2 separate regions of the Homo sapiens genome follow, and region 1 is linked to region 2. The links are contacts of gene promoters, found by promoter capture Hi-C in human tissues and cell types (Jung and others, 2019). All regions are on one chromosome and are shown on one strand. Each heading gives the region's core, a stretch centred on a gene start or on the middle of the fragment in contact. The rest is flanking DNA. Distances are from core to core; before and after follow the strand shown.

Evidence for each region. The method cuts DNA at HindIII sites, captures the fragments that hold promoters and counts their contacts. A contact is called where the count stands out against the background at its distance.
Region 1: a contact is called between a fragment that was not itself captured here and the fragment with the promoter of FBXO47 in region 2, in 6 of the 25 tissues and cell types used here (IMR-90 fibroblasts, bladder, pancreas and 3 more).

Annotation. Positions count from the first base shown.
Region 1 is chr17:39,036,687-39,041,483 of GRCh38, reverse strand. It overlaps the pseudogene LRRC37A11P. Among named protein-coding and RNA genes, the nearest start is that of LINC02079, 12 kb to the right of the region's middle. The HindIII fragment of the contact is 8,693 bases long and covers 1-4,797 here.
Region 2 is chr17:38,965,859-38,970,944 of GRCh38, reverse strand. It overlaps FBXO47 (F-box protein 47), which reads left to right and starts at 3,542. Exons shown (of 11, transcript NM_001008777.3): 1 at 3,542-3,716. The HindIII fragment of the contact is 17,690 bases long and covers 1-5,086 here.

The DNA.
Region 1 (4,797 bases), core at 2,200-4,699, 71 kb before region 2:
TCCGTATGATGGCCCCTTAGCTTGACATTCAAAGCCCTAGAAGATCTGGCTCCAATTTCCTACTCTCCCTCCTTGTACTCTACAGGTACTCATGGTATTCCTCAAATACTTTCCTGTGATTTGCCCCTCTCCCATTTTCCTTTTGCAAGTTTAGAATCTTTTCCCCAACATGTTTGTCTGATGTGACGCAGCAGCCCTTCAAAGTCCTATTCAAATGGCATTGTTCTAGTAACATCTTCATGGGTCCAAATTGAAGTCAATCTCCTCTCTTCTATGCTCCAGAAACAATGTATCCCTCCTAGTGCCCACATCCATTTCTTCTTTTGAATGTACTTATTTTTCATCCCATTTCTTCTGAGCATAAACTCCTTGAAAGCATGGACTAGCTCTTGCTCATCTGCGTTGCCCACCATGTTTAAAACTGACACATGGAAATAAAATGAACTCACATATTTATAAAATAAATGAATAGCTGGGGCAGTGAGTAGAAGGAAAATGACTATTTTAAAGGAAATATAGTTTTATTACTTCATGGCCTCTGTAGCGCTTTGGCATCCACCTGAGGGTCTTTACACCCACTTTCCTTAAGCCTTCTACATTTGAAAGAATCTGTCTGCAAAAAAGCATCACTAATGAGCTTAATGAGGATTAATGACATACACACCTCTAAACCATGGGCAAAGGATAAAAATCCAGCTTTCATAGCAATGAACATAGTATCTTCTTATCTCTAAACAGACAGAAATACTATGCAGGTATCCCTTCCTTGGTAACAGGGCTGAGGACATAGTTATTTTGTAATTAGTGAAGAGTTAGGGGCATTTCTGATATGCTTACTTACTATAAACACTCTAGCTATACCACTTAACCATCATTTTAAACATCTGTTTTAATATAACAATTCCTGAAATGAAATCCTTAATACCAGGCTATTCTTTTGGTAGCTTAATATTCTTGATAATATTATTTATATAATTCAGCTGCTTATTATTTAATATATAAATGTTAATTTAATTTAGATTAAATTATCAAAAAATTCTGGATTAATGATATTCAAATTAATGTAGGTAGTCTATATTTTCTTCTCCTTTAGGCAACAATCTGAAGTTAACTTTAATTCCTTTCATTCTACTAAAGCAACTTTTTCAAATCTTTCTTTTCTCTTTTTTTTTTGACAGAGTCTTGCTCTGTCGCCTAGGCTGGAGTGCAGTGGCATGATCCTGCAACCTCCGCCTCCCGGGTTCAAGAGATTCTCCTGCCTCAGCCTCCCGAGTAGCTGGGATTACAGGCGTCTGCCACCATGCCTGGCTAATTTTTGTATTTTTAGTAGAGACAGGGTTTCACCATGTTGGCCAGGCTGGTCTCAAACTCCTGACCTCAGGTGATCCTCCCACCTCGACCTCCCAAAGTGCTGAAATTACAGGCGTGAGCCACCGTGCCCGGACCCAAATCTTTTTTGGGAAGGTCAGTTGGTAAATATTTTAGGCTTTGTGGGCCGCATGTGGTCTTTGTTGCATATTTCTCTTTGTTTCTTTTCTTTTTCTTTCCCAGTCCTTTAAAAGTGTAAAAACCATTCTTAACTTAATGGGCTATTTAAAAACAGACTGTAGATTAGATTTGATCTATTGGTTGTAGACTGAATATAGGAAGATGAGATGTGAACACTTTTTATAAAACAAGGTTCATATGGGTGTCAATCACTGCTCAGATCTTATTACCATGTGAAATTCTTTTCTGTCTGTATTCTGTCTATATAATTAAAAAATTGAAAATGCATAGAAGGTATTAATGCTAGAGATGGGCTGAGACCCTATACAAACTTACAGAATTGCAGAATTGTATTGCTGAAAGAAATCTTAGAGATTATCTAATTTGAACCCCTATATTCATTTTACAGATAATATGACTAAAAACTAATAAATATGATTAACTAACTAACTTACAAATACTGGAGGGATAGCAGGCCCTTCAAATGAATCCCTATGTAATTTAGTCAAATAATTTTCATTGAGAATTCTGGAAAATGAAAAAGTTATTTTCTAGATCAAAATGCAAACTACAACTATTTGCTACACAGGACTAACTCCTACATGTGGAGGAAATCTGGGTCATGATAATTTCAAGATGGTGGTATCTGCTCTGCTTTCATTAAAAGCTTTTCTTACATTTTCCTTTTTGTGTCCATCTGTCTCCACCACCACCACCACCACCACCACATACACACACACACACACACACACACACACACACACACACACACAAGCACACCCCTACCCACTCTTCCCACCAAATTGTATATTTAATGCCTCCTCTCTAGATCACAAAGTCCCTGTTAGAATCCAACTCTGGGTGGCACCAAGATCAGCAGAACTTCCATTTCCTCCTCTCTTTTCCCAAACCTTGTTATAAAAGCCCCACATGGAACTATGTCAGGGCTGCAAGTGAAGCCATTTGACTTTTTTCTCCCATTAAAAATATTTGAGAACTACAATGTGCATAAAGTGCACATAACATAAATGTTGTTTTTATTTTATTTTATTATTTCTGAGACAGGGTCTCACTCTGTTGTCCAGACTAGTCTCAAACTCCTGGGCTCAAGTGATCCCCCTGTCTCAGCCTCCCAAAGTGTTGCAATTACAGATGTGAGCCACTGCATCTGGCCAAATATTCAGTTTAATAATTATAAAGCAGATACCCATATAATATCATTACGAAAGATCATTACTAGCATCCCAGAAGCCCCAGGTGTGCCCCTTTCCAATCACAACCCCCTCTCTAACCCTTATAGATATCCACTATCCTGACTTTCGTAATAATTTTCTTGTTTTTAAAATGTAGCTCTGGCCTGACACAGTGGCTCACGCCTGTAATCCCAGCACTTTGGGAGGCCAAGGCGGGTGAATCACCTGAGGTCAGGAGTTCAAGACCAGTCTGGCCAACATGGTGAAACCCCATCTCTACTAAAAATACAAAAATTGGCTGGGCATGGTGGTGGGCGCCTATAATTCCAGCTACTTGGGAGGCTGAGATGGGAGAATTGCTTGAACCCAGGAGGCAGCGATTACTGTGAGCCGAGTTTACGCCACTGTCCTCCAGGCTGGGCGACAAGAACAAAACTGCATCTCAAAAAATAAAATAAAATAAAATAAAATAAAATAAAATAAAATAAAATAAAATAAAATAGTAAAGTAAAATGTAGTTCTGGCTGGGCACAGTGGCTCACACTTGTAATCACAGCACTTTGGGAAGCCAAGGTAGGAGGATTGCTTGAGCCCAGAAGTTCGAGACCAGTCTGAGCAATACAGCAGGACCTCATCTCTAGACAAATTTTAAAATTAGCTGGGCATGTTGGTGCACACCTGTAGTCCTAGCTACTGGAGAGGCTCAGATGGGAGGATCGCTTGAGCATGGAAGGTCCAGGCTGCAGTGAGCTGCATTTGCACCACTGCAGACCCTGTCTCAAAAATAAATAAAATAAAATAAAATAAAATAAAATAAAATAAAATAAAATGTCGTTTTACCTATTATATGTCAGTCATAAACAACATATTTTAGTTTTGCCTACTTGAACATTATATAAATGAAATCATATTACACATATTATTTTCTGTATCACTTCTTTCACTCAATAATCTGTTTGGACATTTAAGATGTATGTTGCTGAGATTGATTCATTTCAAGGCCTGTGTTGTGCTTCCAATAAGGTAGTCACTAGCTATATTTGGCTACTGTTAGTGACTAGTGTGACTGAGGAACTGAATCTTTAATATATTCATTTTAATTATTTTTAAATTTAAAAGCTGATACTCAATGTAGTCATTAGAAAATTTATGTTTGCAACAACTTGGGTATATGATGCTACTTTTTCAACTGCAAATTTTACAAAATCTAAATATAGACTAAGGTGTTTTGTTTGTTTGTTTGTTTTGAGACAAGGTTTCACTCTGTTGCCCAGGCTAGAGAGCAGTAGCACAATCACTGCGTACTGCAGCCTCGACCTCCCAGGCTCAAGTGATCCTCCCACCTCTGCCTCCCTAGTAGCTGGGACTATAAGCACACACCATCATGCCTGGCTAATATTTTTAATTTTTTGTAGAGATGTGGTTTCATTGTGTTGCCAGGCTAGTCTTGAACCACTGGGTTCAAGTGATCCTCCTGCCTATGCCTCCCAAAATGCTGGGATTACAGGCATGAGCTACCTAACATCCAGCCAGGTTAAGTATTTTTATTATTATTATTTACTTGTCTCCCTAGACTGCTGAGCAGAACAGATTAAGGTTTTTTTTTTTATAAAAATTTAGCAACCAAATTAAGACTTCGAAGACTTAGTATGGAAAAAAGAATGTAAACTCCCCAATTAATTTTTATACTAACAACATGTAGAAATGATACCCCTTTGGATATTTTGAAGACTTAGTATGAAAATAGAATATCTCATTAATAACATATATAATGACTGCATGTTGAAATGAAAATATTTTGGATATAATATATTAACATGTTTCACCTGTTTCTTTTTTAGTTTTATTTTTTAAGTGACTACCAGAAAAGTTAATATTATGTATGTGGCTTGCATTATGTTTCTAATGAATAATAGAAGTATTAATAATCCTTCCATTCAGTATTACACACACATAATACTTTTAATAAGTATTAATAATACTTCTATTACTATATAAAGTATTAACATACTTCTATTATTATATAATAGAATAATAGAGTATTCCATTATATGATTCTACTGCAATATATTGATTCATCTACTGGGTATGGATACTGAGATATTTCTAGTTTTTA
Region 2 (5,086 bases), core at 2,293-4,792:
AACAGATCATAGAGGACGCTGATGAAACAGCAGAGAGATTTGAGTTTCAGGTGGTTGGCAAGGCAAAGTTACTATGGGTTATTGAAATAGGAAATGACAAGGTGGACCTGCAGTGCTTGTACCTAAATTGGATTGCCAAATCCAGCAGACACCTGCAATGCTCATGTAACAGACACCTTGCTCAACTGGGTGGCACTTGTCACAGAGGGCTACTCCTCATTCTTGAAGCACCGATGCTTCAGGATTCTGTGACCCCAGACTCTCCTGGTTTTCTCCAGTTTACTTTGCTAGATACTCCTTTTCAATCTCCTTTGAGATCTTGCCCTCCTTTTCCCAATGTCTGAGTGTCAATATTCCTCTAATGCTTACAATTATATTCCTCTAATCCTTAAATGTATATCTCCAGCCCAGACATTTTCCTCCAAAAGCACTCTGATTTTTAAATTCAACTGCCTCCTTAACATGACATCTTCACTTGGATGCCTCAGAGAAATCTCAAATTTACCACTTGGAAAATTAATTATCCACTAGAATTCTCTTAATTCTCCACTAGTTGGCCAGGCGAGGTAGCTCACGCCTGTAATCTCAGCACTTCACTGAGGTGAGAGGATTGCTAGAGGCCAGGAGTTTGAGGTTATAGTAACCTGTGATTGCACCATTGTACTCCACCCTGGGCAACAGAGTGAGACCTTGTTCCGAAAAGAAAAACATAAGGCTGGGCACAGTGGCTCATGCCTGTCATCCTAGCACTTTGGGAGGCAGAGGTGGGCAGATCACCTGAGGTTGGGAGTTCGAGACCAGCCTGACCAACATGGAGAAACCCCGTCTCTACTAAAAATACAAAATTAGCCAGGCATGGTGGCACATGCCTGTAATCCCACCTACTGGAGAGGCTGAGGCAGGAGAATCGCTTGAACCTGGGAGGCAGAAGTTGCAGTGAGCCGAGATCGCACCATTGCACTCCAGCCTGGGCAACAAGAGTGAAACTCCGTCAAAAAAAAAAAAAAAAAAAGAAGAAAGAAAGAAAAGAAAAGACAAAACTCCACTAGAAAAACTCCTCACTTGCATATCTCAGTAAATGGGATTAACTTCTACCCATTTATTGAAGTCAGAAACCTGGGAATTATTCCTGTCTCCTTCCTTTCCCTTCCTTCCACCCATATCCAATCCATTAGGTAAATTCAGTTACTTCTACCACCAAAATATATCTCAAACCCATCCCTCAGAGCCACCATTCTAGTCCTGCAACATCCTAACAGATCTTACCCTCCACTCTTAGCCTCATTTATTCTCCACATAAAAGCCAGAGCAATCTTTTAATGATGTAAATCAGATCATAGCACTCTCTGCTTAAAACTCTTCAAGGACTTCCCATGACACTTCCCATGACACTTTGAGTAAAAGCTAAATTCTCACCACTAAGGATCCTTGTTTCCATTATGTGCGTCTGGCCCACTGCCAACGGGATGATACTTGGTCAAGGACCTCTAATCAATGTTGGAGACAGGGGGAAAAAAAAGAATTGTCTGCAGCTGGGCACGGTAGCGCAAGCCTGTAATCCCAGCACTTTGGCAGGCTGAGGTGGGTGGATCACCTGAGGTCAGGAGTTCAAGACCAGCCTGGCCAACATGGTGAAACCCCATCTCTACTAAAAAATACAAAAAAATTAGCTGGGCATGGTGGTGGGTGCCTGTAATCCCAGCTACCTGGGAGGCTGAGGCAGGAGAATCACTTGAATCTGGGAGGTGGAGGTTGCAGTGAGCCAAGATCACACCACTGCACTCCAGCCCGGGAAACAGAGGCAGACTTCATCTCAAAAAAAAAAAAAAAAAAAAAAGAATTGGCTGCAAAAGGATACAAAGCCAGGGCTGGGCCCGGTGGCTCACACCTTTAATCCCAACACTTTGGGAGGCAGGCAGATCGCTTGAGCCTCGGAGTTTAAGACCAGCCTGGGCAACATAGCGAAACCCCATCTCTGCTAAAAATACAATGGTGGTGCCCACCTGTGGTCCCAGCTACTGGGTGGCTGAAGCAAGATAATCAATTCAACCCAGGAGGCAGAGGCTGCAGTGAGCCGAGATCGTGCCACTGAACTCCAGCCTGGGCGACTGAGCAAGACTCTGTCTCAAAAAAAAAAAAAAAAAAAAAAAAGGCCAGGAGTGGTGGCTCACACCTGTAATCCCAGCACTTTGCAGTGCTGAGGTACGCAGGTCACCTGAGGTCAGGAAAAAAAAAGATACAAAGCCAAATGGATGAATATATGTGACTATATAAAATAACAGCATGCCAACTAATCCTAAATTTCCACTCAGTCTTTATGTAGTTCCTTATATATTTTGTGTTGGGTATAATGTAGAATTGATCTACAAAAGTAGAATCTTTCCCCCATTCCCTCTTCCCTCAGCCCTTCTCCTGACTGGCTCCTTCTCCTCCATCAGTTCTCAAATCGTCATATCAAAGGGACCTTGAGTATCAGTCTATCTAAAGTAGCTCTCCGCCAACACACACACACCCCATCATTCTGTCTTATTTCCTCTGTCACGCTGCTCTCACCGGAACTGCTCTCAACATCTGTAGATGCTCTGTCTGTTCATTCTATCTTCCCCATTAGGCTAATAAACTCCATTAAAGCAGGAAACGTATCTGTCTTGTTCTCTATTCCATCCTTAGGGCCTACTCCTGTGCCCGGCCCAGAGCAGGCTTCAATAAATAGTTACAGAATGAATGAAGAAATGAATGAATGAGAATTTAATCTTCTAGCCAGGAAGGCCTAGCTAGAAAGATTTGTCTTGATTTCATCTTGAGAGGATGGAGACACACATCTTCCTTTGATTCCAGACAGATTTATTATTTATGTGTTTATTTAGAGACCGGGAGCGGGGTTATGGCTGGGGGTGGGGGTCTCCCTATGTTGCCCAGGCTGGTCTCAAACTCCTGGACTCAAGGGAGCCTCCCGCCTCGGCCTCCCAAAGTGTTGGGATTACAGGCGTGAGCCACCGCACCGGCAAGACAAATTTAAAAAGGAATGTCTGGAGGTTTTTTTCCACCAAAAGGTTTGATGAAACCCCTTGTAACTTGCCCTACTGGAGTCAGTGGGGGTGGGAGGAACTCAAAAATTGTCTCAAAACTAGGTGAAGGGAAAGGCAGTGGAGCAGAGACGTGGCTCGCCACGTTCAGGATCTTGGGCTACACCCTCCCCTTCCCCACACCGTAACGGCTCCAGCCCCTTCTTGTCTTCAGCTTGGAGCGAAGGGTGGCTGAGGCCTGAGTTTGGGCTCCAGGAACCTCGCCCTTGTTAGTTATTCATGAGACGGAGGGCACCATGGGAGCTGGCTCTCTTGCTATTCATAAAGCGGGGAGGCGGGAGGCGGGGGGGAACCTCCTTCCCGCTAGGGCTTCTGGGAAGATCTACAATATTCATGAGGGAGGCGGGCACTACGAGAGCTGAGGCTGCTTGCTATTCATGAGGGGGCGGGCCTCCTTCCCGCGGGGGCTCTTGGGAAGATTCTACAATATTCTAGAGGCCGCGGGGACGCCTGGTGGGTAGGGCTGCAGCTCCGGAGCCTACGGGAGTGTGACCCTCTCGCCTCCTGGCGGGAAGCTCTTGAGGAGATATTTTCTTTTCTAAACACTAAGAAATTTGAGGATGGTGGGGCAAAACGACTAACTCCCACTTTCCTGTGACTCTGTAGCCGGAAAAACTGTCAAAATCTGTGGTAAAAGAGGGTTTTTTTTCCCAGTATTTTATTGCGATAATTTCATCTTTCATGGACTGAAGGGAGCGAAACATGTACCCCGTGTGGTCTGATTCTCCTGTTGACCAGTTTGTCCTTTAGGCTTCCCTAGTTTGCGGCTTTGGAGATGTTTGGGGGCAGCTGCCCGACAGATGGGGTGGGGCCCTTACAAGAGTTTTATGTTAAAACAGACATCCCTGTGAATGTAGTTTTTATCTTAAAGGTGTGGGGGGCGGGGAGGTTCATCCAATTGAACCCTCAAAACCTTTCACGCGCGGTCAAAATTAGTGGGATAGAACAGGGGGCATGAAACATCATTTTATTATTATTATTTGGGGCTGTGATTCTTATTCGCTAGAGGGGTGAGCGGAAACCAGAAATAATTTAGGATTATACCTTTAGAATTTTCACAAAAGCTTGCTTTTTCCCTACGAAACGTCCAGCTCTGAGTGAGGAAAATAAGGAACTATAAGTGGAGACTTGAGTTTTAGAAGAATTTGGGCTTATCATTTTTAAATTTTTGTTTATATTTATTTTAAACATGTATGTAGTTCACAGTTGACACAGTGAAGTCCCCGCCTGGTGACTGACAGTCTTTGAAGAGCCCACGGGCCCAAGCCCCACTGTCCACATTTCTCAGAGAAACAGGAAGAAGCCAAGGCCGGATTTATGCTATTGTAATAAAAATGCTTTAAAACACCTACTGTGTTGGCCGGGTGCGGTGGCTCACGCCTGTAAATCCCAGCACTTTGGGAGGCCGGGGCAGGCGGATCACGAGGTCAGGAAATCGAGACCAGGCTGGCTAACACGGTGAAACCCCGTCTCTACTAAAAATACAGAAATTAGCTGGGCGTGGGGGCGGGCACCTGTAATCCCAGCTACTAGGGAGGCTGAGGCAGGAGAATCGCTTGAACCCGGGAGGCGGAGCTTGCAGTGAGCCGAGATCGCGCCACTGCACTCCAGCCCAGGAGACTGTGCGAAACTCCATCGCAAACAAACAAACAAAACGCCTACTGTGAAAAGTTAAGGTTACAAACAGCCTTATGGATTAAACAAATTAAGATTATTTTACTTGGTGGAATGACACATAGCCATTAAAATATGATTACTTGTAGAAGGTTATTAGCATGGAAAGAGAATTCATTGAAAAAAGCAGATTACAAAGTATTATATATAGTGATCCCTCTTTTTTGTTAAAAAGAAATATATGTATGTAAAAGTCTGAAATTATATAAACCAAAGTGTTTATAAGTGAACTTAATTTTTTTCTTCTTGTTTAGCTGTATTGTGTAAAGTTGTTATTTGTGTAATTATTTTTTTTTTTTTTTGAGGCAGATTCTTGCTCTGTCACC